Regions from separate parts of the Homo sapiens genome. Here regions 1 and 3 are each linked to region 2. Evidence: promoter capture Hi-C in human tissues and cell types (Jung and others, 2019). All regions are on one chromosome and are shown on one strand. The core of a region is centred on a gene start or on the middle of the fragment in contact, and the rest is flanking DNA. Distances in the headings are between cores, read along the strand shown.

What was found. The method cuts DNA at HindIII sites, captures the fragments that hold promoters and counts their contacts. A contact is called where the count stands out against the background at its distance.
Region 1: a fragment that was not itself captured here is called in contact with the fragment with the promoter of CACNA1S in region 2 in 2 of the 25 tissues and cell types used here (liver and psoas muscle).
Region 3: a fragment that was not itself captured here is called in contact with the fragment with the promoter of CACNA1S in region 2 in 1 of the 25 tissues and cell types used here (ovary).

Annotation. Positions count from the first base shown.
Region 1 is chr1:201,069,995-201,072,694 of GRCh38, forward strand. It overlaps CACNA1S (calcium voltage-gated channel subunit alpha1 S), which reads right to left. Exons shown (of 44, transcript NM_000069.3): 17 at 278-410. Among named protein-coding and RNA genes, the nearest start is that of CACNA1S, 41 kb to the right of the region's middle. The HindIII fragment of the contact is 4,386 bases long and covers 1-2,700 here.
Region 2 is chr1:201,111,130-201,113,829 of GRCh38, forward strand. It overlaps CACNA1S (calcium voltage-gated channel subunit alpha1 S), which reads right to left and starts at 1,297. Exons shown (of 44, transcript NM_000069.3): 1 at 1,059-1,297. The coding sequence starts at 1,210. The HindIII fragment of the contact is 14,734 bases long and covers 1-2,700 here.
Region 3 is chr1:201,153,164-201,155,863 of GRCh38, forward strand. It overlaps TMEM9 (transmembrane protein 9), which reads right to left and starts at 1,311. Exons shown (of 5, transcript NM_001288565.2): 1 at 695-1,311. The coding sequence starts at 760. RefSeq lists an enhancer at 548-697 and a silencer at 1,108-1,387. The HindIII fragment of the contact is 5,085 bases long and covers 1-2,700 here.

The sequences.
Region 1 (2,700 bases), core at 87-2,586, 41 kb before region 2:
CTTCCCTTGCTCTCTCCCCCTTGACCTGTCTAAAGCTCTTCTCTCAGAAAGGAACCAATAAACAGGTCCCTCTTAGGTGTAAATAACTGATAAGGTTTAAAGCATTACTTTTCCCAGATATACTAGCATTTTAAACAGGGCACAAGATCTTAAGCTAAAACACTGAGTTTCTCATAGTATAACTGTAGGCATGGAGAGTCAGACAGGGTTTTTTCTAGGGCAGGGAAGCAGATGAGAGCCGCATCAATCACCCCCACAGCAGCCAAGGGGCACCCACTTATTGGTGGGGCTGAAGATGAAGAAGGAGCTGGCTTCTGGAATGGGCACGGCCTTCTCTTTCAGCTGCAGCTCAGCCAGGGGACGTGGTCGGGGGCTCAGCGGGATCTCAGGCTCATCTTCCTCGTCATCCCCTGTGGGGAGAGAGAGAGGAATTAGGGGTGTCTTCCCATGCTTTGCTATGCCCATGGCTTCTGTGCTCAGAGCCCTCCTAGGAGCCCCTGCAGCCAGTAAGCAAGGGACCACCAGGCTGACTTGGGACCCTAGGGCTTTGGCAGAGTCCAGCCCGGGCATCTCCTTCTCTTCACAGTGAGCAGATTTGAGCGTCAAGGGTAGGTAAGGGAAGCCCACAACCTTCCAGAAGTGGGGCAAGGAGCAAGCCCAAGTAACTTTGTGGCTGCATGTTGTGTCTCAAGGCTCGATCCACACAGCCTCAAATATCCATAGGCTGGGGGATGGAGTGGGAAACGCTGCTTCAGAAGAAGAGACCTGGGTCCTAGTCCCAGGTCTGCGTCTAACTTGCTGTGCAGTGCTGGGAAGGTCTGTGCCCTTCCTTAGCGTCAGTTTCCAATTTGTGAAACCGACAAGGGGCAGGAGGGTTGTTGAAATAAAAGGACCCTGTGATCCTCTCCTGGGCTAGGATTTTAAAAATAGTAACTTCACAGAGAAGCTTCTTCCAGCATGGAAAAAAGCAATCAGAATTTCTTGAGCTTCACCCAGTCCCCAGGATGCAGGCAGGGGATAGGGGATGAAGAGACGGACATTCCAAGCACATTCACTGAGTCTCATGACCTCAAGAGGAAGCTGAGTACCCGAAATCCTCAGCTCCCAGGGTGGGAGAATCCCGTGATCAGACGGTGGGGGCACTATTCAAAGCTGGGGTTTCTCTTGGTTCCCTCCCCTGACAGCTACCTCCTCCCTAACCCTCCTGGCCCCTGGCAGAGGCCTTGAGGGAAGCCAAGAGCTACTGGATTCTACTGTCTCCATCATGGCCACCTGTAGGGGTTCTCAAATCCACCAAGTCACATTCCAATTTTTCTGTTCCCCCGAGAAGCTAGAACTCTTATTCCTTGGAATGAGTGTCCTAACGTGACACTTTCTGTCTTGCCCAGCCTGCCACAGACCCCAGAGACACATTTCACGCTTAATCGCAGAGACCATTAATTCTTCGAGTTAGCATATTTGCATCTTTCCCCCGCCTTCTTACTTCCTCCACCTATGCCCAGTTTGTTAATTTCATTGCACATATCTTTTGCTGTAAGCCATTTCAAACTATTTTTAGAAAGAAGCAGGATATAAACACATTCAGTCCCCTTGGTAAGACTCTCTTCCTGCTGTCCAGCCCACACCCCCTCTACCCCTCCTCTCCTTACTTCTTTCCAGCCCCTTCCTTGTCCCTGACCTCAGATTTCCTGTCAGCCACCATCTCACCTGCACACAAGTCACTGCCATCTAAGAGGTGATAACTGTTAGATGAAACAACTCAAAATGAGTTATTCTAAAACACAAATATTCATTGCTGGTAGATATTTGAAGAAATTTCATTATTCTTATTTGTACCAGCTCCATTCTCCCCATACTTCACTTTGCAAAATTCTTTCATGCATTCATTCATTCAATTTATTGAGTGCCTCCTCTGAGCCAAACACTGTGCTGTGTGGAACACAAAAGTCCCCCTGGAGCTTAGAGTCACTGGGGCAAACAGATGCTAATCAGCTGATTCCATAAGTAGACATACAAGTAGCTGATCAGCTGATGGGACAAGTAGATCTAAAATTGCCCCACTGACCCGGTGATCCGAAGGACCCAGGACCCAGAGAGTTCTTGGGCCCCAGGGCTCTGTCAGGTGGCCTGGTAAGATTAATTCAGCCTGGTTCTGCTTGTCCTCTTCTTGGTCCAGATAAATGGGATTTCTGCAGCAGTCACTGGCTATTTGCATTTATGAGATGTTTGTGGTTTATCCACGGTTGTTTCTTATCCATGCTCCCCCTACCCCACCATTGTTTCCTCCTCTTGGACTTTCCCACATTGCCTGCCATGGTTCTATCCATCCCTGTATCCTTCCGGCCCCCAGCCCTACCAGACACTGGATAGTGAGTAATCTGCCTCATCACGACATATATGGGCGTGTCCTCATTTATGATCCATTCTGCATGACTGGCAGGGAAGACTTGTATACCCACGTGTCCCTGTGCTTCTTGAAAACTGAGTCCTTGGCAGTGAGGCACATAGCTGGCACTCAATAAATACTTGCTGAGTTACATGAAAGTAAAATGTATGGGTTTTTCTGTTGTGTGCATTGTTGAGAGAGACAAGCTGGCAGATGGCTTATTTGCACAGAAGGGATGTCTCCGGTGTTCTGATCTCCACATGGAGGGGTACAGGTAGGGACACACAAGAGACTGCCCATGGGGAGAATTCAGG
Region 2 (2,700 bases), core at 47-2,546:
GCAAGGAGGGAGGGCCTAGGAGGGTTTGATGTGGGCGATATACCGCCTGGCCGAGAGCGGGTCAGGGGAACAGGGCTGACCCTGACCCCAAACTATCTCTACTTGCCCCACGTTTCTCTTGTCCTTCCAGTTATCCCTCATTCTCCTTCCTTCTAGGGAACAGCTGGTAGGAGCCCAGCCTTCCAGAACTCTTCAGAAATATTTCAAATATGCCCCACCCTCGCTCTCAGAACCCACTTGACACAGCCCTCCCCTTCTCTCTGTCACTCCTTCCTCCCTTCCCCAAATAACCCAGATATTTTCATCATTCTCCCCACCAGAGCAAATGCAAACATAGCATGAGTTTCAAAGTCCCTGTCCCCAGGGTGGCACGTCTGAGCTAGAACAACCAGGCTTGTTTGGCCTGTGTCTTGGAGCCACTGAGACCAGGTGTCTTTCAGATCCATTTCTCCCCTTGGCTCTGTCCTCAGCTGGGACCTGCCCCCAGAGGAAGCCTTCCTTCAGCTCACCTCTGTCCACTGTCACCCCCCACCCAACCCAAACAAGGGAGAGTTTTCTCAAAGAGGCCATCGCATCTTTTTTTGGTCCCTATCCTATTCTAAAATGAGGCTGGTGCTTCAAAAACCTAGTGGCACCCCATGATAATGTGGATTTGGGCACACATGGGAACAGTCCCCATGAAACAGGCCCCACCCATAGGTGGTCAGTAGGCATCTCTGGTTGTCATCCAGGACTTGGGTGGCCCACTCAGGCCCAGGAAGCCCCACCAAGTCCTCCTTCTCTTCCTCTTCCTCCTCCTCCTCTTCCTCCTCCTCCCCCACCCTCCTCCTCTTCCTCCTCCTCCCCCACCCTCCTCGTCTTCCTCCTCTTCCTCCTCCTCCTCTCCTGCTTAGCCGAGGGCTCCTTCCCCCAGCTCCTCACTCAATTCTGTGAGTTCACCCCATGTCTAAGTGCCAGGCCTCCCTGGCCCTCCTGTAGGAAGTTTGTGCTCTGTGATCACCCCGAATCCCTCCCTCATGACGCACACCCCCCCCCACGGCCCGGGCCCTGAAGGATACTTCCATTCTACAATGCTGATGCAGGCCTTCCTCAGGGGGTTCTCCAGGGTCAGGCAGAACAAGGCCCGGGGTGGCCTTGGCAGAATCTCAGGAACTGGCTTCTTGGGCTGTTTCTTCCTCAGGCCTTCATCCTGGGGTGAGGATGGCTCCATGGCTTCCCTGGGAATCTGGCTTTCTCCTGCTCCCCCACCCCAGTGCTTTCCCTTCCCTGTGTCCCCAATGCCCCCGCCTTGGGGACTAGGCTGGCTGAGGCTGTCGGCTGAGCCTGCCCTGCTGAGCCAGCCAGGGGGCGGGGGCAGGAGTGGGGGCAGGAGGATTACTCTCCTCGCTCCCAGCAAGTAAAATTAGCCTCCACTCGGCTCCCCGCTGCCGGGCCTGAGCTTCTGAGGCCAGGCAGCTGTCATTCCACCCAGCCCAGCCAGTGACTTCCCAATCTGTCCCCTGAGGAGGGTGGGGTGGGTCGGGGGAAGAACTTACACACAGGCCTGGGATGGGGCAGGGGCAGTGGGAGAGGGAGACAGGATGGAAGGTTTCAAGCCTGGGGCAACAGAGGTCAGGAATAGGTAGCCTTGGATATGGAACCTCAAACTGCAGAGTGGCCCCCTCATGCCAAAATTAGGCTTACCCCTCCTCAGCCCCATGACATTGTCTGGAGAAGGCACTGGGCAGCCTAAGTCAGGACAGCTCCACAGCAGCCCCTACCCATCTCAGTATCTGCACCATCAGCCAAAACTCCCCAAGCATACCCTCAACCCACCCCCACAAGCAATCCCATGTCAGAGAAACAGTAAACCCCTCTCCAGTGGGCTAGAAGGCTCCCAGAACAACCCTGAGTGTGCACACCTCTGGCATAGCACCTGCCTCACTGTGGAGCATCTGCTGTGTATCTTTCTTCCCCATCTCCTCCCATCCCTACAGGTGTAAAGGTTGTGTGCATTATCTCTGGGACTCTGGCCCCTTCTCTGCACAGTCCCCCTATGTACTATGCTCCCTGTAAATGTTCACTGAGGCCAGGCATGGTGGCTCACGCCTGTAATCCCAACACTTTGGGAGGCTGAGGTGGGAGAATGGCTTGAGCTCAGGACTTCAAGACCAGTCGGGGCAACGTAGTGAAACTCTGTCTCTACAAAAAATACAAAAATTAGCAGGGTATGGTGGTGTGTGTTTGTAGTCCCAGCTACTAGGGGGGCCAAGGTGGGAGGATCAGTTGAGCCTGGGAGGTTGAGGCTGCAATGAGCCAAGATCTGGCCACTGCACTCCAGCCTGGATGACAGAGTGAGACAGAGTGAGACCTTGTCTCAAAAAGAAAAGTTCATTGAGGATAGCCACGGTAATCCCAGCACTTTGGGAAACCAAGGTAGGTAGATAACTTGAGGTGAGGAATTCGAGACCAGCATGGCCAACATGGTGAAACCCGCATTCTACTAAAAATACCAAAGATTAGCGGGCGTGGTGGTGTGCACCTATAATCCCAGCTACTCTGGAGGCTGAGGCAGGAGAATTGCTCAAACCCAGGAGAAGGAGGTTGCAGTGAGCAGGGATTGAATCACTGCACTCCAGTCTGGGCAACAGAGCAAAACCTGTCTCAAAAAAAAAAAAAAAAAAAAAAAAATTCATTGAACGCCTGAGCTAACAACACTGA
Region 3 (2,700 bases), core at 93-2,592, 42 kb after region 2:
TGAACACATCATTTATTTTCACTGTGTTAATAGTACATCATATTTTTTTACCGTTAAGAACTTATGTGTAACGTAAGAAAATATTTATCGGTAGCATATAAATTCATTGTCAGGAATGGTGGTGATGCCAACCAACCAGACTATCCACATGGGTGCCTGAGATAGTGACGCCTTTGCTTTCTGATGGTTCAGTGTAGATAAACTTTGTTTCATGCACACAATTATTGAAAATATTGTATAAAATTACCTTCGGGCTATGTATATACAGCATATATGAAACATAAACGAACTTCAGGTTTAGACTTAGGTCCCCTCCCCAAGATAGCTCATTTTTTATGTGCAAATACTCCCAAATCCAAAAATATCTGAAACAAAACATACTTTGGTCCAAAGCAAAGGAAGGTATGGAGAACTTAGATAACTTCTCCAAACTTCCTTGCTGGAAGTCCACCACTGATCTGTCTGATCAGAGTGAGCCAGTGCTCTGTGCCCCACCCTTCCTCACTCCTCACCCGCACTATCCTTAGGGAGGCCAGCAGCCTTGAACCTGAAGGAAGACCACTAAAAGAAGTATGGCCCATAGGTGAGTGAGAGGCAGGCTTAAGGAGCAGCTGGCTACCTCTGAGTCAGCCCTGTAGACAGGGTGGCCGTGCACTGTGGTCGTGACCAGGTGCTGCAGGCTCACCTCCCTCACCTTGTTGGCTTCAGCTGGGGGCACCAGCAAACACCCGACCACAGCCACCAAAGATAAGAGCTTCATGCTTATCAGGCTTGCTGGGCCAGCAAAGCCGGACACCTGGAAAAAGAGATACGGAGTCGGAGAAGGGGAAGGTGGCCACACCGCAGCCAGCACGCTAGGCCCTTAACCATCCGGCCAAGTGGGAATGGGGTTGGGGGCTGGGCTCCAGGATTCCAAGGCCTGCTAAACCTGGTCGCCAAACCCTGCTTCCCTCCCGCCCAACTCTCCGGCTCTCCGCCAGCCACCTGGTGAGCCCGGCAGAGGGGTCCTCGAGGGGACACCGCTGCCAGGGGCCTCCAGTTCCTTCTCAAGGCCCGGCTCTGACCCGCGCATCACGTCCCACCGCCCTCCGCCATCTCCGCCTCTGCCCGCCCCGCAGCTCCTCCCCGCTCGGGCCCGACGGGAACTTTTGGGTGCGAGTCTGGGACCCCTGCTCCGACGGCGAAGGCCGGTGCCCACCACGCCCAGAGGTCTTAAGCCGGACTGGGACCCCCAATAGCCCCGCGACCCCCGTCCCCTCCCCCAATGCCGCGTCCACGAACCTACAAGCCCGCTGCAGCCGCAAAAGACCCAGTTGTCCCCGCCCTCTCCTAGCTTCTATTGGTTGCCAGAGCAGCCCCTTAACCCGACCGCGCTGTCGCCATGGCAACAAGACCCGCCTTCACCTGGGCGGGGAGACTCTTGCGCAAGGGAGAGGCGGGCATTTCTCAAACCCGACCAAACCAGAAAAGGGAACGTCAGCCTTCCAAACTCCTGGGGAAGGGTCTTGCCTTTGTGTGGCCTGAGAACTCCCACTGCGGTGCTTCTCCCTTCCTTGTATTATAAAACTCAGCTTGTTTCATCTTGCTGTTTTAGAAAGAAAGCGCTTTATACACTGTAAGCTAGTAACGTCAACAAAAACGATACGAGATTGAAGGGCTTTGTCCTCATTCAAAATCTGGAAATGTTATTTAGGGATCCACGTCTTTGCTGCAGAAGACTTTCTGCGCGGCAACGTCTCTACCCCTACACACACCTCTGAGAAGGAGAAATCTAGGGTTGGCGATGGGTGGTGTGGGCTGGGCCTGTGAAGAGTGTGCACAACAGCGTCCTCAGCCTGATCCCCCTACCCCATGCTGGTGCTGGGCCTGGCAAAATGGGGCAAAGTGTGCATGGCCAGGATGCAGGGGTGAGGGTCCCTGGCTGCTATGTGGCAGATGTGAACTTCTTGCCAGCTGTGAAGGAAAGGGGAGTCATATGAATTCAGGGCACCAGACCCGGAGTGAGGACACCGGGGCTTTGGCCCTGGCGCTCCCCCTAAGCAGCTGTGTTAGCCTGGAAAAGATACCTCCCTTCTCTGGGCCTCAGCTTCCCTTACTTCCCTTATCTGTAAAATGATTCGGTTGGATTCTAAGATCCCCTTCAGCTTTGATATGTTGGGATTCCTTAGGGGTGGGTGGGAGGGGTATCAATATGGCCCAAACTTGAGGTTGGTGGCTGGATTAGCATAGGGGCTGGGTCCAGGTGGAATCAAGCCCCTCGCAGGCCCTGTGAACTGAGGTGGGCACTTATCTGGAGGCCACTGAGTTTGTGTTCCTCTCTCCTATGCTTATGTCTTATTCCTCTTTATATCCTTGCCACCTGGCAGAGTGACCTGTGTTTGGTAGGTGCTCAGGAAGTGTTTGCTAAACTGAATTCTATAGAATTAAATTAAATCTAGTTGGCAGGGGGCAGGGGCAGGAGGCCTGCAGTGTGATGCAAAGGTCAGGGGCTTTGGAGCTAGAGTGACCAGGGCAGGAATCCTGGTTCCTCCCTTCCTAGTTGTGTGAATTTGGGTGGTTTCCTTTAGGACACCGCCTTTGGATCTTTGGAAGTCTTTGGAATCCTTTCAGAAGTCTCGGTTTCCATGCCCATAAAATGGGATTAATATTACCAAATTTTCAAGGTGGTTGTAGGGATATAATGAGTTTACATATGCAAAG